Regions from separate parts of the Homo sapiens genome. Here all the other regions are linked to region 1. Evidence: promoter capture Hi-C in 16 types of primary human blood cells and fetal thymus (Javierre and others, 2016). All regions are on one chromosome and are shown on one strand. The core of a region is centred on a gene start or on the middle of the fragment in contact, and the rest is flanking DNA. Distances in the headings are between cores, read along the strand shown.

Region 1 (4,348 bases), core at 699-3,198:
AGAGGCAGTTTCTAAATTGTTTACCAATAATTTACATAAAAAAACAAACTATTAATTGTCTATAGATTGTTCTTCGTATCACAAATTCCAGGAACATGAAGATATGGTTGGGTAGTCAGTCATGAACAAAATGCCTTTAAACAATCGCCTCTGAGCATGAGTGTGGGGGGTGCAACTTATGTCCCATATTCAAGGTCTCTCTGGGCCTGATAAATTTTGCATACCTCACATTGCTCAAATGCTCTGAACTATTTTTCTTTTCTCAACTACAATTTCCTTTTTCTGGTTGCTCATGATTCAACTGGGGGAGCTTTTAAACCGTGGTTCTCAAACTTTAATGTGCATCAGAACTACCCAAAGGGCTTGTTAAATCTGGGTAGCTCAGCCCCAGCCCCAGAGTCTATGAATCAGGTCACTGGAGTACAGTTTCTGTCAAGTTCTCAGGTGATGCTGATGCTGCGGGCTCCAGTGACTACACTTTTAGAGCCAGTTTTAAAATACAAGGACTTGCAGATCCCACGTCCAGACTGACTCATTGGACTTGGGGATGGAAATCTGGCATTCCACCCCTCCCTGCCCCCTCCCCCCAATTTTAATGTGTCCAAGGGTGAGAATCATTGCTCCTCTGTGGACTATGGATGGTTCCCTGAAGTTACTGAGTTTGGGATTTAATAAATATATGCATTCCTCTGGGTCAACTACAGGAATTCTGCGGTATTTAAGGACATTAAATGAGTGACTTAATACTTTATTTAAAAAAATACCACTGCTTTTTGGTTCACACTAATTTTCTTCCTTCTTTTGGAAAGGCATTTCCGTCCATCTCCTGGATATTTTCCAATACCACGATAGAAAGGTTATTAGTACAGCACCCAGAGGTCTTCGGAGCAAAGCTGTTAAAGAAGTGGGGTCCATTTGAGCCCCAACTTTGCCTTCCTTAGGTCCCCTTGGGCTTGTCTAGCCCTAGGAGTTCCAACAAGTAAGCTGGGCATGCTCAGTGGGCAGGGTCGTTTTTTTTTTTTGGGTGGCGGGGGGTTGCAAGTGGGAAGCCTGCTGTTCAGCTGCCGGGGCTCTCCGCCTCCCCCCACCTGTATGAGGCTGGGTCTGGGGAACCTGTGCTCAGCATTCCACCCCCTGGAGCTTGGGCTTGGTCTTCCCTGCGGGTCCCTGCGCTGACATTCAGGCGGGGAGCCAGGAGGCCTGGCGCGCCTCCAGAGCCCGCCGGGGGAGCCGGGCGAGGGTTCTGGGCTCTGACGGCGGGGTCGCAGGGTCGCCCGCCTCCTGGACACGTCTGTAGGCCTAGGGAAGCCTGCCGGCCGGGAGGTACAGAGTAGGAGAAGCCAGATCCCAGGGCGGACAACGAGAAGTCGTCAGGTAAGCCAGCCCCGCCAGCGTGCCGGCGGACGAGTGTCTCCTCTCCCGCAGGCAGATGGCCAGGGCGGCCCGCATGGGCGAGGGCACAGGAAATCGGACACCGCCACCGTCTTCCCCAGCCTGGCCTAGCTCAGGCTTTCCAGTCCGCCAGCCCGCTGGCAAGGCGGGGCGGAGGTCTGGAGTCCGGCATCGCCGAGGCACAAAGCAGGAACTGCAGCCAGGGGCGAGGGCCCTTGCGTGTGGCGCTGCGCGACCCCACCCGGCGGCAGGACCCGCGTCCCCGTCTAGTCACGTTCATTGGGCCACGGAGACCACCTCGCTCGCCGCCCGCTGTTGGCTTTTCCCTCCCACACCCCCGCCAACCCCGGCCCCGGTTCCCGCCCCCACTTCCGCGTTTCCCCGCTGGGCCGGAGGAGCCTGGGCCCGAGGTATCCGGGCAGGAGGTGGCGGCCTCGCCGCCCTGGTCAGGCCTCCGGGAGGGAGCAGGCGCGGGAGCGGGAGGAGGAAGTCGGGAAGAGGGAAGGCGGGGGCGCGGCCCGCCCGGCGCTCGAGTTACACCCGCCCAGCCCGCCTCGAGTGACAGCCCCGCGCGCCTCGCTGGGAGCACCCGGGCCGAGGCTCTGATTCTGGGGGGAGGCCGACTCCACCCTGGCTGGAGGAACTGGGTGCTCCTGCCCGCTGGCCCCTCGCGCGTGAGGATCTATCTCAGGTGTGTGCTTCCTGGGAGACCCCTTCCCCCGCCTCTAGTATTCTAGGGGGGGAGTGGTCCCTTTCTGACCCGGGCGAGTGTTCTGGGACTCCAGTCTTGGCGGTAGGTGGTGGCGGGAAACGGGAAAGATTTAGAATTTCTTCCCACCAGCAGAAGATGGATTCGCTCTTCTCTAGGGTTTCGTTGTTTATGTTTTGGAGGCGGCATTTGTAAAATAGTAAAGTGGCAGGACTTTTGGGGCGAGGGTTGGTACCCCATTGAAAGTTCATGCAAACTTTTAGCTTGTAGATGCGGCTAGTCTGATAAGGATTGTTGCTCCCTTCCGAAGCAAGAGTGAGAACGAGTCTGGAGGAGGGCTGAGGCTTCTTTGAGAAACTCAGCTGCTGGCGTGTGACCGTCCTAGGAGGAAATGGAAGGTGCACACTGATAACTTAAAACAGCCTCCACTCCCTATGTAGTAACTTCTACCAGCAAAAATAGATTTGCAAAGAGTGCTTTGGCAGGAAGGTGTAGCTGGGTGAATGAAGTGCTGCTCTTAGCAGATGGTCTCTAGTCTGGCTTCCACCTTGTGCAGTGGAATATTCACTCCCAGAAGAGTTCCAGAGTAATTTACAAACACAAATTCTTGCAAAGTGTTAGTGACATGGGCAACCCAAATCACACACAACACATTATAAATATCATAGGAGGCAGCTATAGAAATAGCAGCTAGTCAACTTATACTTGTATAAATAGGTGAGGGAAGGAAGTTAGTAAGTGACAGGGAGTCTTTATTGCTAAAACAAAACTGTTAGTATTTTGCATGTGTTCCAAGTTTAAAGAGATGTGAAGTTTCTTTTTGGCGTGTGGACGGTGCTGGCAGCTGTCACACTGGGCCCAGGCACTTCTTCGTAGCTACTGACCACTCTAGTCCCAGTCCTACAGTTCTTGCTGGCTACCACATGACATCTGGATGCCATTGCCCAATGGAGACCGTGTGCAGTCTGGGGAACCTTGTGATGTGGATGTTGAAACCCCCCTCTGTTTCTCACAGGGGCGTTATGTCAAATTACAACACTCCCTTGACTTTTACAAATCAACTCGTGAAATAATACAGCAATATTTTAATGAATAAATGGGTAAATATGGGGTTTTGGGTTTGAGAACCAACAATGGATTCATTGCAACTGTCCATTCTCATAGCTTATAGAGTCACTTTATTTTATAAAGAAATTCTAAACAGCATTAGAGCTCTGCTTCCTTCTTTCTCCCTTGTGATTCATTCAAAGATGCAATGGCTTGGTTCAGGAATTGACAAAAGGGCCACAGTGTTACCAATTGTTAGTGAGTGTTACCACCCCCTTTAGTTTTTTTTGTAACTATTTAATCTCATTGTAGATATTTTAAAAGATTTGATGATTATTGTGCATAACTCATGTTGGCAAACTATTATAACTCTGAACTTATCCTGTTTGGTTGTTTTCTTTCATCTCTAGCGTGTAAGTTCTATGAGAGTAGCAGGGCTTGTTCTGTCTTGCATACTTTCAAAACTCTAATGCCTGGAGTGGTGACTAGCTTGTAATACACCCTCAATAAATGTTTTCTCAATGAGTGACCTCCAATGCCTAGAGGGGTGACTAGCTTGTAATACACCCTCAATAAATGTTTTCTCAATGAGCGACTGAACTGTGGAACAAACTCCAGCTGAGGGTAGTTGTGGAGCGGGGAGCCAAAGACTTTGGCCTTAGGTCATCTTTTAAAACTCAGCCTCAATTGTCTCATTGGCAAAATATGGATAATAAATGCTATGACGTGTGTAAAATTGCTAGCAATGTACCTGGCAAGTAGTAGACTTCAAAAGACTAGCTTCCATCCTATATTTTTCCTTCTTATACTCAAGTAGGAAAATATGGGCAAAGAATGTAGTTAGCTTGAAAATTTGGGCAAAGAATTCTTGCATGTTGTGCATGAATTATCCGTACATTTTTTTCGGTTAGTTGAGTGTGTTGGGATGGGGAGAGGAGAGGCGAGTTAGTGGTAGCTATGGTTATTAGAGAAGGGAAGCAATTTTCAGATCAGTATCTAATTTCTCAGTTTTAGTTTTTGAATGTGATGATGTTTCTGTTTAGGTTTTCCAAAACTTGATTCTTTCTGTTTGTCAACACCTGGACTCATGGGGCTATCCTAAGTGCAGAAACAACACTTCAGAAAGAGGACTAGAAATCAAATATATGAACACTAGTCTTCTTAAATGAAATTTTCTGTATTCTTGTGCAGCATTATATT
Region 2 (3,921 bases), core at 51-2,550, 1.1 Mb before region 1:
AATTAAAATTCTTCACATGCATTATTATTCAAAGTCTTATGGATTTACAGCTGTTATTGTAGCTCAGGCCAAAAAACATAACAAAGTAAGAAAATTCATAAAACCAGATAATTTATCAATAAAATTATATATTTTGTTCGAAATCATATAAGAATAACAAATATAGAAAGAAAGCAACGAAAGAAAAGGAGGAGAGAGAGCACAAGCAAGAGAGAGCATGTGCAGAAAGAAAAATACAAAGTGTAAAAAGTTGGAGGAAGAATTTAAAACATAAAATGTGTCTTGATTTTAATTAATTATTTAATGAATATTTTCTTTAACAATATACAATTTAGTTTATAAATGTTTTCAACGAAAATATTTATTGTGAAATCCAACAGGTATGCTCCTAACATTGTTATTGGACCACACGCATATCTGTTTTTATTGTATTTGGTCTTTGTCTTTTAACTGGGAATGGGAGCTGTAATTTCCCAAGTTTTGCTCTCAAGTCACATTATCAGGCAGAGATTATACCTGCCTTATTTATGTTTTCGTGTTGTTTGGTTTGTTACTAAAAAAAATTCCTATAACCGAGTACAGATTTATATATATATGACAAATAATTTGGACTTGCACTCACCTATTCTTCACTAATAATCCTGAATTAGAATATGCAACTACTAAAAATAAGTAGGTAAATAATCACAATATACTAAAAGTAACTTCATTTTATAATAGTTAAACTGAAGAAAAATCTGCTATTTATTTTAATATTGTTACTATGGTGGATAAGATGAAAGATACATAAGGAAACTTACAGAACAAAAAATAAGTGAATAACAAATGACCCTTAGCTCTTTTAAGAAGATATAATGCTGACTTTTTAATTTATTTATCAGAAAGGGAGTCTTAGTATCTGTTTATTACTATTAAAATCAGGATATTTTAATTTTTCTACATATAAACTAAAAATATATGTAGGTTTCCATGGCATCAGGTAGCACCTTTCCTGTTCGAAAAAGCTTATATATTAGACAATTGAGAAAATTTTGTAATATCATCTGAAATTTTAGGGATTGGAATATAAAATTTGTTTTCTGCATGAAACATTAAAAAAGAAAGGTACCATGTCATTACACATTATTGAGTGAGGGGAAAGTGGGTGATGCAACATCTTTATACCATAACATTTTTTTTTCAATTTTGGGGGTCATATGTCTACATAAAACACTTTAGAATATAGCTGATATAAAAATTGATGTGAAGCAATATTTCGAATGTTATACATTTTTATCCTGCACTGGGATATCTTCCCTTACTCTGTTCCCTGCCTATAGATGATATGCCTAAAGTGTTAAGGATAATCTATCAAACAACACATTTTGTTAAACATCTGCTGAAGAAGAGTTCAAAGTCTTGGAGTGCAGCCACAAAGACCAGAAGTAGAACAAAGTCAACTCTTCCTGTTGCTCCACTCTTTTAAAAATTTTATTTATCAGCTACTTAACGGGCCCAGAAGTTTGTAGGTGGAAAATATATTAGAGATTACTTTGTCAGATCCACACATTTTTTTTTCCCAGAGGAAACTGAAGCCGAAGAACCTGTCTCTTAAATTTAAGCTTATATAATTAACTAATAGTAAAGATAATCCTAAAATCTATTTCCACTGATTTTAGTTCTTATTCTTTTTTTATTTCAGTTCTTATTTTTAAATCACTTTTGCCCAAATTTCAGGCAAGCAATTACAATTAAAATGTGTATTCCTATAAATTTATATTTCTCTCAATAAAGGTATAAGTTGTTTTCAAGTTTTAACAGGATGATGTGATAAGTAGTCATTGCCATGGAGAAACATGAATTATGATCTTGAAGAACTTTGACCTCCATGTTTTAGAAGAGCTGGTTTTATGCTGGAAGCAAAAAGTGGAGATGGGTAAAAGAAAAGAAATAACTAATGATCATTTTGTTAGCTAAAGTTTTACAAATACTGTTTTCGAAAAGCAAAGGTTAAATAAAAGATATGCTTTCAGTACAATTGATTGTAAAGATCTATTGAATGAGAAAATATCAGAGATGCTATAAACTCAGGTCACAGACTGATGGAAAATCATAGGATGTTTTACTATTGAACATGAACTTCCCACATAAAAATAAGGCTGCATAAAAAGGCAAAAAAGGGAGGGAGTTCATTTTGTCCTTTGTGTTATCTTGTATGGATAATTTATCTAACACTAAAACAGACATTGGGAGTGCTCTATTATTTCATAGAATATTAAGTTAAAGTGCTATCTAATAGCCAAACACTTGCCTTCTAACCTTAACCAGGATTTCAGTTAAAAGATCAGTTTAGAATCTCATCACTAGATGGCATTGTTACACTTGAATACAATTTAAATAATACAATGACCAAATGAGCTAGTTAAATTAGTAGACAATTATCCCGGTTCTCCTCTTCCTTTTATGAGATGAAGCTGGTTACTTAGCCTGCAGGATAAATCCTATAGGATGCCCCACTCAGTCAGGGCTGCTTTTTCACAAGCTCTCTCTTCCCAGCTTTCACCTCAATCTGTCATACAGATTTGACACCGCATCGTTCCAACAGTACTCAGAAATGACATGTATATAATGTGGAATATTGTGCACATTTACAGCCGGGGCTCTTTCTCTTAAACATCGCTGGCTATATCTTGGCTTCTGGATTCTGCCTTGCTCAGTGTTCTTTACTTTTCACATATAAATGGATGCCTAACCCAAACTTTTATTATTACGATTATCTTAAAGCAAAACCAGAGGACAGCATACCTGATTTCTGTCATTTTTTCTGTTAGTATTTTCAAGCTTCCACTGAGCTTCCTGTAAGCTAATGAAGGCCATGGGACATACAGGGCAATGCTAACACATGATATTTTTATGATTCAGTTCCATGAATACTGCAAATGAAGTTAAGTGACATTCTATTGAAAGAGGTTCTTCTTTACTTCTTTATTTATTTCCTTAAGATCAACAAGACCAGTTCAATAAGCCTAGCAACCCATTTTCTTCCCCAGAATAGGCCTTAGCTTTGTTTTCTTATGTTATCATAATCTAGCACTTTTCCTGTTCTAAGTGAAAACCCACTGAAGAAGCAAAACCATTCCATTATGAGTGTTATCAAAAAGCAATACCATGCTGTTTTTAAATGAATACAAATCCAAAATGCATTGTAAAGTGTACCCAGCCCACACTTAGGTGACATCACCCACACATTCTGTGTGTGATTACTGTACATCGCATCTGCATATTTCACAAGAAGTACAATGCATTGTGGGTGGTGGTTTCTATTTACAAGAAGGGATGCTGGAAATACCCACATCACAAAGTGATATTTTTGTTTTATTAACATAATAGGGCACAGTTGTTTTGGCAGATTGCAATACAGCTGTAGTATATACTTTCTGACTAGGATTGCTACTTTATTCTTTTTCAAATGCCCTCCTCCATCCCCAAATCTGTACTTTCCCATGAATCTGAAAAATGAACTCTTTACATTCTTCTAACAGAAACCTTCTGAACACATACCTTCAATTCCTATGAAGAGAACATTGAAACCACAGGGCAGAGCGAGCAACAATATAAGCCACCTAATTAATTAATAGTTCACTATAAACAATGAACTACATGTAAATATTACAGTCCTTTTACATCCAAAGAACTAAGATTACACATGATAATTTTATTTGGCATTAATATGCACTAAGCAGAAGAATTTCTGCAGGAATTTATAATATAATGCAAACTTCTGTTAGACTGCTAACAGGCAAGAGGAAACTGGAAAAAAAAAGGGCTGGCTAAGTTAGCCTACAATCATCACTTACTTGAAGGAAAAGGCAGATCCTATTAGCTACAATTCTCAACACTCATAGTACTAAAATGTACAGTAATATAATTACATATATTTAA
Region 3 (4,518 bases), core at 167-2,666, 1.4 Mb after region 1:
CTTTTCTTCTGTTACTAAGTGGAACGTTTTCTTCTCTAAGTAGCTTTTCTCCCATGCAAGCAGCGTTCAAATCTCCAGGGGAAAGGAGGGGTGGGGAGGGGGTGGGAGACTATCTGGCACAAACTGGACAGAGCCGAGCCAGTCTAGAACCCGACGGAAGTTACTGAATCCAGCGGCCCCAGAGGCCCACATCTCTTCTTAGTGCGCCCGAGGTTCTAGCCTCACTGTTTTGGTTACAGTGTTGAAGGAAGGGTTTTAAACTTGGCAAAGTACCGTGCAACATCTGTAACCACATTTGCCTTCTGGGGATCGGAAGATGAATCCCACATTCCTGGCTTTGAAGCTTTTTGAAACTGCAGCTAGGAAGAACCGAGGGAGGGAGGGAGTTGAGCAGAGTTTATTGGCTGTCTCTCCAGCAGAAAATTCCTCTTGGAAGAGATGGATATTTTGAGGGTGGGGGAAATTCGCCTATCTATCTCCTTACTCTCTACAAGCTCAGCTAGGAAGGTAAGCCCCGTGGCCCCGCGGCCAGATCGATTTACAAGTCAGAGTCGCACACCCTGAAGGAGTTCACAACACACACACACACACACACGCACTCACACACACCCCAATACAAACCTGAGACCCCCGCTCCACGCCTCTGCCCCCCCACCCCCCATATCCCACCAGCAGTTCAGGCCCAAAGCAAGACAGTTTTGTTCCGCGGCTGCTTCCCCCACGGAGAGGGGATCAAGCTTGGGGGAGAAAGGAATGAAAGCGAGGGGGAGGCACCGCAGACGCCCACCCTGCCACCCCCGATCCCTGCCTCTTCTCCCGCTAGGCTACCTCCTCCCTCAGTCCTCCCGGCTCCAGCAGGCGCGGCCGGCGACCTGCGCTCACCTCGGGTCCCGCCGCGGCCGGGGGCTGAGCCGGGGGAGGCGGAGTGCGAGGCAGCCGGGCGCTGCAGGTCGGCGCGGCGCGGGGCGGCGCGGGGCGGGGCGGGGCGGTGCAGCCGGCGAGGGAGCCCGGAACTCTGCGGGGCCGGGAGCCGGGGGCCGAGGGCCGGCCCAGAGCGGCGGCGGCTGCGGTGGCTGCAGCGGAGCGGTGCGTGGGGCCGGGAGCTTCCCGGCCCTGGGGCCGGCGCGGCTGGCCGAGGAGCAGGCTGGCAGCGGCAGCGGCGGCAGCGGCAGCCACCCGGGGGAAAGAGCCGGGGGAGGGCGGGGAGGCGGGGTGAAGAGGAGGAGGAAGGGGAGGAGGGCGGGCAGAATAAACTTCCCGAGGCGCAGAGGCTCGGGCTGGGAGCACGACCGCGGGCGGGGCGGGCGGACCAGCTGGGCTTGCCCCCGGGGGCGGCGGGGGAGACCGTCACAGAGAGTAGAAAAGTTCCCCCTGCGCCGAGGGGGAGGCTGCGGCGGCGGCGGCGGCTGCAAAGAGCAGGAGCCGGAGCGGGAGGAGCGGGAGGAGGAGGAGGAGGAAGTGGCTGCGGAGCGCTCGGCCAATGAGTGTCTGGAGCTGTGATTAACCAGGCAGCAACACATCATTTCCTCCCGGCGCGGATCCAGGGAGCCGGGAGGGGAGAGAGGAGGCGGCGGGGCGGGGCCGTCCCCGCGCCCCCTGCAGGCGCCCGGCCGAGGGCGAGCCCGCCGAGCCCCGCCGAGCCTGACCGCGCCGCCCCCGGCGCGCCTGGCGCTGTCTGGCCGGTCGCTTGGCCCGGGTGGAAGCTATGAGCGCGCCGCCAGCGGGGCTCCTCGGAGGCGGCGGGGCAGGCCCGAGCTGGGCTCCTGTGGCCGGGGTGGGAGGAGAAGAGGCCGCGCGGCACGGGTGAGTGCCCAGGTAGGCGCGGGCGGGGCCGTCTGGACAGCTCCCGAGGGCGCGCGGGGCAGGCGGGCGGACGGGCGGGCATCCCGGGCCCGGCGACTGCGGGCGGCCACCTACTCGAGCCCTGCATGTCAGACTTGGGCTGGATTCTCAGAGAGAAGCCTTAGCATTCTCATCCAGGCCATCTCTGACCTGCCTTCAGATCCCCTTCCACTTTGCTCATTTCCTTGCAAGGTCTAGGGTTATGACAGAGCTTGCCATGTTCGCCTTTGGCTTCCTTAGTAACAGAAATAAGCATGGAGGGGCTTCTGCAGTGATCTAGCCCTGTCCTAGGCGCCATGGGAGCTTACAGTGGAAATGCAGGAACATTCTCCGCTGCAGAGAGTCTGATAACCTCGGTCCTTAGATACACAAAAACACCCCAGTGTGCTAATATTACCCAGAGCATCAAAAAGGCATGCAAGGATCAAATTTTGCATGGTTCCTGCTGAGTGTAAAGGAAAGCACTAAGCCATTTTCTCTGCCCTCTAGAAGCTTATAATGTACAGTCCTATCACAAAGCAGAATAAAAACATGAAACCTATAAATGGGAATGCCATAAAGTATTTTTATCTCTACAGGTTCATTCATGCAGAGGGCATTTATTGGGTGACTGCAGTACTGCAAAAGGTTGCAAAGGAAATGGAAGATCTGGTCCCTGCAGGTTGGGAGTTTACAATCTAATTAGAAATACAAGGCATATATACGTGAAAAAACTAGAATCCCCAGCTGTAAGCAAAAGGATGGAGTAGGTGGGAGCATTTTTTTCATAAAGAGAGCTTTGTACCTGTATGATTGGTGAGGAGCAGGAGAGGCAAGTTCAGTACCAATCAAGGCAAGAGCACCTATATGTATCCCTGCTCTATAGAATGATGTAACAGGGCCCTCATTGTCACTTGGCTGAAGTGTCAGCTCTGCCACTTACAAACTGTTTTGAACTGGGGCACATTTTTAACCTAAGAAGGGAATACAGGTTGTCTCGTGAGGTGGTTGTGCAGTTCAAATGAGATTACAAACGTGAAAGCTTGTGAAGCTCAATGATGTACATTCATGGAGTCCTCATTGTACAAACTGGCCCTTCTTGGTAACCTTTAGAGTTCCCTCCCAGGCTGTAAGCTGCAAGAGGGCAGGGACCAGGTCTGATTGTATTCATCATGTATCACAATGTTTAGCAGAAGGGTTCATGTGGGTGTTCAATAAAGTTTTGCTGAGTAGGTAAATAAATGAATTAATGAATCCTGTTATGCTCTGAACAGTTCCTATTATTTGTTCCTTAAGCAGTTCCTTCAATAGTGGTCTTATTGTATGGCTGGCTCAGTGAAAAACACTCTAACTCAACCTCCTGTGACTTACTAGTGTGCCAGGAGACTGGGAGAATTCTGGATGGTACTGTCAGAGGCATTCAAACCAGAGAAACTCCATTTTGAATGAGGGCTAGGAAAATGAGACTGAGACTGGCTGGGCTGCATTCTCGGGAAGTTAGGCTTTCTTAGCCTCTAGATGTTTACAGCTAAGGGAACAAATTAATAGTGTTTACTAAACAAACCCAGACTTGGGAGTGTCCAGATATCCCGATATCTGGAGAACAAAGGCATTCCTAATTTTGCTTTAAAGATAATATTGATTCTTGCAAAATATAGTAATTTATTTATTTATCACAAACTCTTGTAGCAGAGCACATCTCCCTATATATACGAGCGATGTACCTAGCATGGAATCGTTCCTCCTCTTACTTTCGGCAACATCCTACTTTGTCTATGGAGTAGGTGTCCTTTCACCACTTTGCTTTCTTAATAAACTGGCTTTTACTTTACACTGCGGACTCGCCCTGAATTCTTTCTTGCGTGAGATCCAAGAACCCTCTCTTGGGGTCTGGATTGGGACCCCTGCCCTAAAACATATTCCTGGCAACCACAGAAGGGACTTTAGTGCAGAAACCCTGACCCAACGGCTACCTTTGGGTAAGTGTTGGGGTCCTGTAACAGTACTTGTGGCCTTTCGACATAAAGTGTGTGTGTGTGTGTGTGTGTGTGTGTGTGTGTGTGTAAAGCAAGAGGCAAAAGGCTCCTCCACTCCTCCAGCAGGATACAGCCTTCCACACAAGCCCTGTGCACACAAGGATACAGCCCTTTGGCTTGGACACCTTAATCCGGGGTTTCTCAACCTTAGCACTATTGACATTTTTGGCTGGGTAATTGTTGTGAATGCTGTCCTGTGCATTGTAAGATGTTTAGCAGCATCCTTGACCTCTACTTACTAACTGCCAGAACACCCTCCCGCCACAGTTGTGACAACCAAAAATGTCTCCAGACAGTGCCAAATATTTTCTGGGAGGGGGTGCCAAACTACCTCCTGTTGAGAACCACAACCTTACTCTAATTCATTGATTGAACTCTGGTGGAAAATCACACCAGTAAAGTTACTTGGAGGAAATATATCTTCTGTTATTCTAAGATTTTCAGATCTCCTCAATCATATGTTTCAAGGAGCACGACTCTTGCTAATTAATTGCCTGCTGCATTGTGAATTGGCATCTCTTCTGTTTTCTGCATATCCTCCTCCTTTACGCCCAGATCAACATGTTCATTTCTAAAAGTCAACAGCTTTCAAAAACTATTAGGAAACAGGGTCTTGAGCAACCTAAGAGTCCTGTATGATATTTTTCTATAAAATTGGGGG
Region 4 (4,065 bases), core at 607-3,106, 1.0 Mb after region 1:
TCTCAGCTACACAGGAGGCTGAGGAGGGAGGATCGCTTGAGCCTGGGAGGTCAAGGCTGCAGGGAGCCAAGTTTGCACTATTGCACTACAGCATGGGTGACAGAGTGAGACCCTAACTCAAAATTTAAAATATCAAAAAAAAAAAATTTGAGTCAGTGAAGTCTGCTTCCCAGCAGAGCAGAGATGAATCTACAGAAGGCATCCTGGAGAAATGGCAGCATCACTTCAGCCTTCTCCACCCACATCCTCTCTAATGAGGCTATTCACTAGTGGGGTCCATTCTCAGAGGTCACTCCAGTGGGTATCAAACCAACCTCCAGAGAAGTTAGACCTGTGGTCAGACCCCAGAAGAGTTCTTCAATCCAGGGAAACATCTTCAAGATTTTTCTTCATGAAAAAAAATCAGTTTTAATACATTTTTCTTTTTAATGTGTGTTAAATAACCCTGAGAATACACCTCAAAAATTTCAGTGATGCCATCATCACCAACAGCAAACAGAGATTAAAGATTTGTATGTCCCCATTACTTGCCATAGCCTGTCCAAGCTTGGTTTGGATGATTGACTGCTTTGTCACCCTGGAACTCCTGGAATCCCAGTGTATCCTTTGGGGGAGACCTGGAAGCATGAGACCCACAGCTTTAAGCCTTTCTTTTTTGGGTTCTGGATTACTTCTCTGGGAAACTTTCCTTCATCACTCCTTCTAAAGGGTAATCTGAGTGTCCTTCCTGTGGACTGGGTTCCATTACAGCACAGAGGATTTTTCTTAACACTGCATATTTTAATTAGCTCTCTTGTCTGCATTTCCACTAGACCGTAAGCTCTCTCATGGTACAGGCTCTTTCCTCTTTTCCACTGTGCATGTCTAGCACCTAGCAGAGTGCCTGGCAATGGTTGGTGCTCTCTCTATATTTGCCATATGAATGGATGAGTGCTAGAGCTAGAGGTAATGGTGGCAGAGTACATACATCACAGGTTAATGGCAACAGATTCCAAGAGGGAACAGAGGGGTTTATGGGACATGAAGTCAAGTCCCAGGCTAATATAGCTCCATGCCTCTAAACAAACTTAGTGACTCCAAAGGTATTTGAGCCTACTTGTAGACATTCCAGTTTTAAATTTGCATGTTACAATTCTGGTTGTGACTTTATACTTACAAAGCAGCAGCCAAAGTTATAGCTATACTACCGGTAGGTATGTACCACAGAGAGATGAACTGGCCCAAGGGACAAGATGTTCCTGTAAACAGGCATTTGCATTTGAAAATGTGGCATTTGGGGTACAGTACTTGGTGGCAGCCAAAACTGCCTTCAGAGAGAAAGTATAGATGGAAGAAGAAAGTGAGAGTGGAGGAGTGTGAATACATATGCATCATCTCCTTGGCTCAGCAGAGCACAGCAGCAAAATAATGCATATGCCATGATGATTAATGCCCTGGGACTCAGTCATGCTTTGCAGATCCAACAACCAGCATCTCATACCTTGGGCTGATGGAGAACCCAATGCAATCTTACTAAGACTAAATGCAAAGAAATGTTCTAGAGGAAAGAAATGTTGTAGTGACAATTCAATGGAAAACACAGTTTTAAGTATATTTTATTTCTGTAAAAGTTTATTGGGCATAAGCAATTATGTTTATGTTTTAACAAAAATATACTGCTATTTCCTAAAAAGAAATTCAGGAAAACAACATTTTTTTCCTCTCAGCCTACATAAGTGATCACTTACTGCTGGAATATGAGATTAGGTAGTGGTAGACAGGCTATAGCAAGAGAAGACACGATCAAGGCCCCAGGGTAATTTGAAGAGGGAGGGAGAAACTGAAGAAATGAACATGAGTGTGTGGACCAGGCATCCATTATGCTGAGGACAAGTATGTAAAGGCCTGAGTTCAGGAGGCTTTTTTCAGTATCAAGAAATCCAAGTGAGAACTAAAAAATAGGGACATAAATTCTCCTAACCATAGAGCAGATTCTACAGGCAAGAGATACAAATATCTACCTTCCTGGGAAATAAAGTGTTTGAAGAAAATAATGAGACCTTCAAACTCCTCTAAGGCATTTTAGAAAGTCTAACTGCAATAAAGATAAGAAAGTTGGAAACTTCCACATATTTAGACTATAAAAATCAAAGTAATAGCTAATAGACAAATTACATCTACTTTTGCTGCCCCCCTCCCCCAAAATTAAAATATTGCATAAATTGAAAGGTCATGGACTTAAACAAAATAAAGAGAAAATAGAGACTGATTTTGAAGATTTATTATTTTGAAAACATCTTAACCAAAATATTTTAGAGGTTGAAAATATATGTGGCATCTATAAAAATGTAAATTTGGGCAGAGAACTGGTTTGTTTTAGAAAAACAAAACTCACTTTCATCACAAGACAGAGAAGCTCAGGTCTTTCCTTGCAGCCGTTCTATACACTTCAGTGCTTTGAAGGAGCTGGCCATGAGCACGAATTACTCCAGTATTTCTATTTGCTCTAAACTCCATTCCAACTCTGCCTTCACTTCAGATTTGTAGTCATATCCGTGAGCCTCTCACCATTTCTAATGATCTGCCCTTTTTTATTTGTCTCGGTATTTCCTTTTGTATTTGTTTCTTTTCCTTATTTAAATACATTTTTCCCATGATTATCTCTCTGTTGCAGATAATTTGTAAAGTAGAGAGGATCCCACTACCACCAAAAATCATCATGAACATTTGTCTTAACCTCCCTAGTCCTTTTTTATTATTGATTTTAACCAGATGAGATAATTATGCATAAATAACTATGTATATTCTCTTATTACACTTAAATAGTGTATCTTAAAACACTATCTTGTTACACTTAAACACTAACACTACCCGCTATAATTTTCTTTTATCACTAATAACTAATCACAACATGATTTTAATAGTGATATGACAGTCCATACTATAGCAGAACCATAATTTTCTAGTTTGATAGTAATCTAATTTTATTAAATATTGTTATTTCTGATAGTTCACTGTTAGAAATAATAATGTGATCAAATTTGAACATAAATCTTTGTCCATATAACTATTAGTATAAATCCTTACATTAAAAAATAGTGGTTTAAACCCCATTGAAAAGTAGGCAAAGGATATGAACAGACACTTCTCAAAAGAAGCGATATATGTGGCCAACAAGGATATGAAAAAAAGCTTAATATCACTGATCACTGGAAAAATGCAAATCAAAACCATGATGAGGTACCATCTCGCACCAGTCAGAATGGCTGTTGTTAAAAATTCAAAAAAATAACAGATGCTGGCCAGTTTGCAGAGAAAAGAGAACACTAATACACTGTTGGTGGGAGTGTAAATTAGTTCAACCATTGTGGAAAGCAGTATGGCAATTCCTCAAAGAGCTAAAAGCAGAACCACCATTCCACCCGGCAATCCCATTACTAGGTATATACTCAGATGACTATAAATCATTCTACCATAAAGACATATGTATGCGAATGTTCATTGCAGCACTATTAATGATAGCAAAGACACGGAATCAGGCTAAACGCCCATCAAACGACATCAATGACAGACTAGATAAAGGCAATGTGGTCCATATACACCATGGAATACTGTGCAACCATGAAAAAAGAATAAGATCACGTCTTTCGTGGGAACATGAATGGAGCTAGAGGCTATTATCCTTAGCAAACTAATGCAGGAACAGAAAACCAAAAACTGCATGTTCTCATTTTTAAATGATAAGAACTTATGAACGCAAAGAAGGAAACGACAGACACTTGGGTCTACTTGAGGGTGGAGACGGGGAGGAGGGAGAGGAGTACACAAGATAACTATTGAGTACTGGGCTTAAAACCTGGGTGATGAAATAATATGTACAACAAACCCCCATGACACGTGTTTATCTATGTAAATGAACCTTCGTATGTACCCTCAGAACTAAAAGTTAAAAAAATAGGGGTCTGAAAAATATAACTATTTTTAAGTCTCTTGATGGATATTGCTAAATTATTGGCAGAAAGATTGTACATGAAGTTACTGATCTTGCAGAACTCCCAACAGCTTTAGTTATTACCAGTTAAAAGT
Region 5 (3,871 bases), core at 395-2,894, 1.0 Mb after region 1:
AAGTTTAATTCAATCAAATCATGAAGCTATGGGTAGATTGCAATATCATTCAAGGGATTAAGCCACTAAATTCAATTGGGGCTTTAAATAGATTATCTAGATCAGTGTTTCATGAAATAACTCAGTAAGATAATTTCAACACTCTTTTAGATATAAAAGTAGACACATTCATTTGGTGCACTTATCACCTAGAAACATCATTAACTGCACTTTTAAATATTCCTTTTGCAACTTTATCTATTTCAGGTTTAGGGGGAGTACTTTGAGCATGTTGGGCATATGGCAGAGATGGCTTCATGTTGAAGGGTCCATGCTGAAGGTACACAGTAGTATTGGGGCCACCTGGAAGCAGTCAGGATGTGCATAGGTTTTAAAAGGCAGCTTCTCCTGTGGACTTATCCATATATCTATACAAAATGCTCTGTGAATGCGGGTTGTTTGAGTCTTAAGAGGTAGTCTATGCAATGATTTTAAAACTGTACTCATGAAAATGTAAGGAGATCCTTTGAATGTCCTGGGAAATAAGGGAAGAAGAAGAAAAAGAGAAAGGTATGAGAGGGGGGATTCTGAGACTTTCAGCCCTGACATCAACCATTGTAGTTGTAATTGCTTTGCTTTATATTGTGTTCCCATTCATACCACATAATTTAATCGGGTTAAAAATAAAACTGAATGAAAATACAGGCTTATAGAAAACAGAAAAGACTCTTCACATAGAGTGTGAAGAACAGTAGACTATTGAATCACTCTGTAAAAAAAAAAAAAAGCGTCAGCCCTCTAATGAGTTCCCCAATTTCTACAGACTATCACCTTTTTGGAGAGATAAAGCCCTAACAGCAAAAATCCCTTTAAAAAGAAACACAAAGTAACCAGGATAACCAATAGTTAAAGGAACCCTAATTCTGGATTTGTTTAAAATTCATTCAAAACAAACTTTTGTTCATTAACCTATTAAGACAAAGGTAGAGAGGGTTTAACTCAACCGGAATGAACAACATTTTTGTACTAAGGGAATTGTTCTATAATATGAAGATGTCTTTCCAAGAAAGATTAAAGCTTTAAGAGAAATATATAATTGGTTGACCACTTATTACCCGGAGTATTTTCCTTCTTTGAGGACTATTGTATTTTTTAAAAAGTAGCTATTTTTATTTTAAAGTTACTTGATTAATAAAATATTTAAGAATATGTCCAATCAAATATAAACGTCAAGATCAAGATATAGAGGCATATAGACCACCTGTCTATATAGAGAGATGGATAGATAATTTTCATTTAGTTTTATTTTTAACCTGATGCATATATATCTTTATCTTGCTGCCATAACAACCATGAAATAAATGAATTGTATTCACCACACCCAATAGAAATTGGCTTCAGTGAAGAGGGCTGTTTCTATTTGAATATAGGAATAATTTGTTTTATTTTATTTTATTTATTTATTTATTTATTTGAGACGGAGTCTTGCTCTGTCGCCGAGGCTGGAGGGCAATGGTGCGATCTCGGCTCACTGCAAGCTCCGCCTCCCAGGTTCACGCCATTCTCCTGCCTCAGCCTCCCGAGTAGCTGGGATTACAGGCGCCCGCCACCACGCCCAGCTAATTTTTTTGTATTTTTAGTAGAGACGGGATTTCACCTTGTTAGCCAGGATGGTCTCGATCTCCTGACCTTGTAATCCACCCGCCTCGGCCTCCCAAAGTGCTGGGATTACAGGTGTGAGCCACTGCGCCTGGCAGGAATAATTTACTGAAATGAGTTCATTCAAATCTATTTGAGGCAAAGAGTATGACCTTAGGCAATAAAATAAAATCACTAAATTTCTGCATTAAAAAGAAATTAAATTCAATGTAATAGATGTCGCAGCTATTAAGATTGATTTTTGCTTTTAAAAATTCCAAGTAAGCTGGGGATAGAAGGAAAAATACCTTACCATAATGAAGAGTATCTACCAGAAATACCCACCCAACATTAACCTTAATATTGAAATGTAAATGTTTTCATTATTGTAAAAAGGCAGACCACGATGACCATAACCATCATCACTCTTCACAATTTTACAGTATATCACAAACAAAAGATATTGAATTTATAAAGAAACACAATGAAACTGTCAAGTTTGTTGATTATACGGCTTCATAACTAGATTATCCAGGACAATTCATGAAGAACAAAAACCTGGTGAGAATTTTTCTGAAGTATAGCATTCAAAAGACAACATACAAATATAAAGAAACAAGCTTCTTATACAATAACAGTTATGTTATATATTTGTTAATATATTATACTATAATATTATCTTATTACAAAAGAACTTATAAGAATGGGAGAAAGACACATCAAAATAGCCAAAAAGTCATAAAACAGAAATGAATTTAGCAAGCATTCTTAAGATGTTATGAAGAAAATTCTAGAGTCCGGACTAAGGAAAGGTATGCCATGTTCTCATATGAGAAGAGCCCATCTTGTAAAGACGTTTATTATCCCCAAATGTTCTAAAATAGTTCACTGCAAGTCAAAATCTCTGTAGGTTTTGTGTGTTTGCTTGCTTGTTTGTTTATAAAGTTTGACACACGTTCTCACACTCATCTGAAAGAGAAAGTGCACAAGACTAGCCAAGAAAAATCTGAAAATAAAAGAGGTAAGAGATGGAGGTAAGGATGGGCATTGGGAAATCTGTCTTTAATATTATATGGGTTAGAACTGTATTGTCAAACAGGAAAGGTCAATAAAAAGAATGTCTATAAATACAATATTATCAAAGAATAGAGACTCCCCAAACATACACATGCATATGTAGAAATTTATATTTCCAAGAAGTTATTTCAATGTATTAGGAAAAGAATATATCTTCCAATAAATAAGACTGGAACCCATTTGAAAAAAATTAAATCTTAGCTTTTTATGATAATATAATAGTAATTTCCAGGCAGCTTAAGGAGTTAGAAAAGTAAAAATAATTTAAAATCTATAAAAGAATAGCAGAAAATATAGAATATTTAATATAATTAGGTTGGGAATGCTTTTCCTAACAATACATAAGAGCCCAGAAAGCATTAGCAATGTAAAGATGAAAAACTTCTGTTCAATGAAAGCTATAATGTTCACAGGTGAAAGCTAAGTGAAAGATAGCAAGAAATTATTTGTGACAGAAAATTGCTCAATGGTTGTAATAGAGTTCTTAAAATTATACTTCTCAACAAAGTATTTTTAAATAGCAAAGGCTAGGAACAGATAATTTACAGGTGAAATACAAATTGTCGATAGATTTATTAAAGGAACTCACCCTAATTAGTAATCAGGAAAGCAAAAACTGAAATAGATACTACTTTTTGCTCACCAAATAAACAAAAATAATAAAGGTTAGTGAAATCCAGTATTGGCAAAATTGCAAGTAAGTGAGCACTTAAACACTTTTGGTAGGAATACAAATCAATAAAGACATAATAACAGTGGGGTAATTTGACAGTATCCAAATTTTAAATGTGCAACATGTAATGTGTTACACTTTTGACAGTTAATGGTAGTGAATCTTCTTTTAAGAATTGACCCTTAGGGCAGGGTGCAGGGCCTCACGCCTGTAATCCCAGCACTTTGGGAGGCCGAGTTGGGTGGATCACCTGAGGTCACAAGTTCGAGACCAGCTTTGCCAACATGGTGAAACCCCATTTCCACTAAAAATACAAAAATGAGCCAGGCGTGGTGGCAGGTGCCTGTAATCCCAGCTACTCGGGAGGCTGAGGCAGGAGAATGGTTTGGACCAGGAGGCAGAGGTTGCAGTGAGCCATGGTGGAGCCACTGCACTCCAGCCTGGGTGATGGAGCAAGACCCTGTCTCAAGAAAAAAAAAAAAAAAAGAGAGAGAATTGACCCTA
Region 6 (4,267 bases), core at 1,440-3,939, 1.0 Mb before region 1:
CTTTGAAAAAGGAGAACTCAAAACACATGTGAAGTTCTTAAAAACCTTCTTTACAAACTCTGACCCTTTAATATATTCAATAAAGTTGCATAGCTTACGGGCATCTAACGAGTTCTCACACGTAATCTTGGAAACTATCCCTTTATGTTTAGTATGTCACTTTGATGTCTTATCATTTTGGTCAAAATTTCTACTTTAATATCTGGTTATGTTAGGAAGATAATCCAGATGCTGGGCGGTTAACAAGACAAATTTCGACTATGGTAACTTTCCTCTAAATGTGCTCAGTTGTCAACTTTCCTTTTAAAGACTGACACAATATGTCAGTTGTGTTTTGAGCAGAGCAGAAGATGAAAAGAAGGCAACTGGCATTTACTGAGAATATGCCATATAAAAGGTATTCTGCTAGGTGCTTTCACATAAGAGAGGTAATGGATTTAGAAAAGAAAAAGTGTGAGGAAGTGGAGGAGGAGCTGATGTACTATTACTAGGAAAATATTTACATTGCTTTCATTCAGCGAGAAGATTACTAGCGAGTGAAGAAGTCTCCCATCCTCATTAAATATTGGCTTTTGTCACTACTCTTTTTTCCTTTTATTTTTAGTTGACATGTAATAATTGTACTTATTTTTGGGATATAGAGTGATATTTTCATGCATATATACAATGTGTAATGATCAAATCAGGGTAATTAGCATATCCATTACCTCAAATATTTATCATTTCTCTTCTGTTGTCAGTTTTGTGTTCTCTCTCCAGTTGAATTAACATTTTTTTCATACAGATGGGCAGGCTGTAATATAGATCCTTATGATTCAACTTTCAGTTCTCTCTTTAACTGTCTTTTCTTAGCTGACCCTCAGTATACTTCCAATCTTTAATCTCTGAATTAATTTGAGAAAATTCAATGAAAACACACACAAAATTATTAGGATAATTTCACATAAATGGACTCTTTCAAACTCTAAGAGTATGCCTTTCTTAATGTGTAAAAAAATACCAAACATTAGGTAAATTCCATTTTCACTGATGGAAAAAAGAAATTCTGATGCACATGCTCCTGTTTGAGCAGATTCTCCTGTTAATCAATGGGTCTTTCATTTTATGTATGAAATGTTCCCCAAAAATATACCTCAGATAATGTCTTCAAAAAGCATGGGAACAGACTATTTTTAAGGCACTGTAATTTTCACATATTTATATCATGGATAAATTTTACTCAATAACTTAAATACTTTTACTTATGTATCACTGTCTTTGGTTAGCTCTAATTTGAAGGGATTGGTTTTTTATCTACATTTGCTTTGGACACAGTTTTCAATCAGAAAATGAGTTATGATTGGCTTCCAAGAAAGGTGTTGTCCTGTATTCTACTAATTTTAGAAAGTACACAGGACCAGTCTCAGAATGGAGTATGTGCAAACACCATATTATTTACAGCAAACTAAATATAATGCCTTGATTTGGCACTGCCTGCTTGATATTTCTCTTGAAAACTGTTACATATGTTTGTTTTGAGTTTCTGCCAAAATAGCAAGATTGTTAAATATCTTTCATGTACTTCTTGTTAAATGCAAGGAAAGAATTATAGATTACCTTAGCTTAACTTTTATACAACAGTCCAATGGGCACTAAATCTTTTGGAAGAAAAAATAAATATTCAAATTATAAAGAAAAAATTACTATTGTAATCACAAATGTATTACGACTGTTAACATGCCAATATTCAGTTTAATACCTAAACCACCTCTACCCATAATAATGTGACTCATTTCTAAATTACATGTAGAATACAGTAAGATTGTAATTATGCGGGGGCTGATTATCTAGGTTGTCAATTATTCAAGGCTTTTGCCTCCCTTCTTCTTCTTCCTGCTGTCCACCTTTTGGACAGTTATCACCTTGTTAGTATTTCTACTCCTTGCTTGTTAGTGAGATTGGCAGGGGAAGGGAAAAGGTGTGAAAACTTAAATCAGTAGATATTATTACTTGCAAGAATTTTCCATAAAAATTGGTGTGGAAGAGTTCGAAGCTAATTGCTAAAATCACACTAGGGATATGTGTATTTCACTTATTCTTGTTTATCCAGTCCTCCATGTATCGGAGAGAGTTATAAGTAAGATGTAAGCTTTCAAGGGGCAGAAAATCATTTCTGATAGAACTTTCTAAGAAAAATATTGTAAACGGAAACTATCTGAAGAACCTTATATAAAATAACCAATCTTAATAATTCAAATTTTTGTGCTTCAGGCAATTATATTACCAAATATTATATTTGCTCCCCAATGGAACTGTTCAAACACATCATTAATTAAACATATACAAAATATACTTGATGTGGCTTTTTCTTTGGGAAAAATACAAATCTGAAAGTGAATGTTTCATATATTTATATTCTTCAGGTATTACAGCATATAATCTATAAGTTTAAATATTATGATCTCTTGTATTTAATTTTTTATTTCTCCTTTCAGCAAATCTGGGTATATTTGAAAGTATTTTCCAGTACATATTTTTAAACGATATAAAATTCACCTGAATTAGAACATATCCCTTTTTTCACTTTCTCTAAATCTGAAAACTTCATGTAAACATTAACTTTTCAATTATTCACTCATAAAATATTTATTGAACAGTAACTCTAAACACAATACACAGCAGACATTGGAGATAAAGTGGTAAGCAACCCAGACATTGCTTTGCCCTCACAATGCCCCCAGTCCAGCAAAGACAGATATTAGTCAAATAATCCCACAATCTCTTTTGCACTCACTATTCAAGGTGAACCCTACCAAAGAATGTAGAGAGCAGAAGGAATAATCAAAGTACTCAGGTTTACTAGACTCCTGCAATTTCCGGCCAACTAGTAGAGTCCTTGAGTGAGACTTTCCCTAGGTCCTCTATTACCACCCTGAAGCTGATAATTGGAACATATGAATCAATGTGGAGTTACAACAACATGATTTAGAATGATACATTTTGGAGACAGTGGGAAAACCAGTAGGCCTATAATATTCAGAAATCACCTATATACATGCTTGATTTTGTATATTTGTTTACAACCTGCCAGCGTTCTCTGTTTTCTCTTTTGTCTTTGGTGAGGATCCCCGTTAGTACTATTCTCAGTGATCTGTTTTTTTTTTGTTGTTGTTTGTTTTTCCTGCCAGTTTCCGAAATACCACTTTTTAAAATGCCTAAATTTGACTTGAATGTTCATATTATTATATTATTATGGGAATGGTTTATTGTTTTAAGCTTCCATGTCTTGCAATGGATAGGTTTTCTGTAGTGCAGTTGATAAAAATTTATCTTAGACTTCTATCACTAAAAAAGGGTTAAAAGAAAGCATTTATATGCACTTCGTGTTCCCTCTCCAATTGAATTAAACCTTTTCTTTAGCTGGGCAGTCTGTAATACAGACTTACAATTTAACTTTCAGTACTTTCTGAAAGTTACCTTTCTATTATATCTTATATGTCCAATTTATGGTTGATAATAAGCAAATCTTTTTAAAAAATACTTACTATTATGATGGGTAGTGAGTGATCCAGATGGTGTCATTCAAGATGGTGGAGACTTTGTCATATTGGATACTTGATGACAATCTCTGCCCTGACCTTCTTTGAATATGTAGCCTGAATGGGAAATAACTTTTTGTGTCTTAACTGAGAACCTGGTTTGTTTATTAATGCAGCCTAGCCTGGCCTATCCCACTATTATATTTTTTAAAATACCAGTTATCCCTATGATATGTCTACTTACTTCTAAAGTAGGATTAAAAAGAAAACTAATTCCCAATTATAATTATCAACAGACAGGCAGCTATAAGGTACTAACAACGGGGGAAGTGGCATTTTCTCTTGTGTGTTATTCCCATCTAAGTTGTTTACAGAAGGAAAACAAAATGTTATTAATAATAATTTTAATTAAATATTTTATGTAGTAAGAATTTCTATGTTATGTATGTACATGTATATTTAGAAAAAAAAAATTGAAGATTTTATTGAATAGAAGTCTTTCCTTGTAGACTACAGTAATTGAGCCCACCCATTACATTACTGTGGAGGGATAAGAAGATTTTGGTGGTTACAGTAGTCAGATGCACTTTCACATAGAGTTTAATCAAAATTAGGGTCATGATTAAAGCCATTGGAGTTATTAATTGAAATATTTTTCTAAAACATTAAATTTTTTAAAATATATTTTCAAGTGAAATAGAATGAGAACATTTGTGTCCTCTTGAGGTGATGACTCAGGCATAAAATGG

Evidence for each region. The method cuts DNA at HindIII sites, captures the fragments that hold promoters and counts their contacts. A CHiCAGO score of 5 or more calls a contact.
Region 2: a contact is called between a fragment that was not itself captured here and the fragment with the promoter of GPD2 in region 1, in 5 of 17 cell types (megakaryocytes, M1 macrophages, M0 macrophages and 2 more). The highest score is 16.0, in megakaryocytes.
Region 3: the fragment with the promoter of ACVR1 here is called in contact with the fragment with the promoter of GPD2 in region 1 in 1 of 17 cell types (monocytes); the score reaches 6.1 in monocytes.
Region 4: a fragment that was not itself captured here is called in contact with the fragment with the promoter of GPD2 in region 1 in 2 of 17 cell types (M0 macrophages and neutrophils); the score reaches 6.2 in M0 macrophages.
Region 5: a contact is called between a fragment that was not itself captured here and the fragment with the promoter of GPD2 in region 1, in 3 of 17 cell types (M0 macrophages, M1 macrophages and M2 macrophages). The highest score is 5.9, in M0 macrophages.
Region 6: a contact is called between a fragment that was not itself captured here and the fragment with the promoter of GPD2 in region 1, in 1 of 17 cell types (megakaryocytes). The highest score is 7.1, in megakaryocytes.

What each region holds. Positions count from the first base shown.
Region 1 is chr2:156,434,431-156,438,778 of GRCh38, forward strand. GPD2 (glycerol-3-phosphate dehydrogenase 2) reads left to right here and starts at 1,949. Exons shown (of 17, transcript NM_000408.5): 1 at 1,949-2,083. RefSeq lists silencers at 1,051-1,220, 1,661-2,070 and an enhancer at 1,461-1,510. The HindIII fragment of the contact is 5,965 bases long and covers 1-4,348 here.
Region 2 is chr2:155,375,015-155,378,935 of GRCh38, forward strand. The region is part of intron 1 of LOC105373699 (a long non-coding RNA gene); the gene reads left to right. Among named protein-coding and RNA genes, the nearest start is that of KCNJ3, 680 kb to the left of the region's middle. The HindIII fragment of the contact is 597 bases long and covers 1,003-1,599 here.
Region 3 is chr2:157,874,914-157,879,431 of GRCh38, forward strand. It overlaps ACVR1 (activin A receptor type 1), which reads right to left and starts at 1,417. Exons shown (of 11, transcript NM_001111067.4): 1 at 883-1,417. It overlaps LOC105373714 (a long non-coding RNA gene), which reads left to right and starts at 1,671. Exons shown (of 2, transcript XR_923518.3): 1 at 1,671-1,803. RefSeq lists silencers at 889-1,098, 1,189-1,238, 1,249-1,468, 1,529-1,768, 1,789-1,978 and an enhancer at 1,364-1,658. The HindIII fragment of the contact is 1,597 bases long and covers 736-2,332 here.
Region 4 is chr2:157,472,378-157,476,442 of GRCh38, forward strand. All of the region lies in intron 3 of LOC105373712 (a long non-coding RNA gene), which reads right to left. Among named protein-coding and RNA genes, the nearest start is that of CYTIP, 30 kb to the left of the region's middle. The HindIII fragment of the contact is 2,625 bases long and covers 545-3,169 here.
Region 5 is chr2:157,448,571-157,452,441 of GRCh38, forward strand. No RefSeq gene overlaps it. Among named protein-coding and RNA genes, the nearest start is that of CYTIP, 6.4 kb to the left of the region's middle. The HindIII fragment of the contact is 1,181 bases long and covers 1,055-2,235 here.
Region 6 is chr2:155,392,144-155,396,410 of GRCh38, forward strand. All of the region lies in intron 1 of LOC105373699 (a long non-coding RNA gene), which reads left to right. Among named protein-coding and RNA genes, the nearest start is that of KCNJ3, 700 kb to the left of the region's middle. The HindIII fragment of the contact is 1,127 bases long and covers 2,127-3,253 here.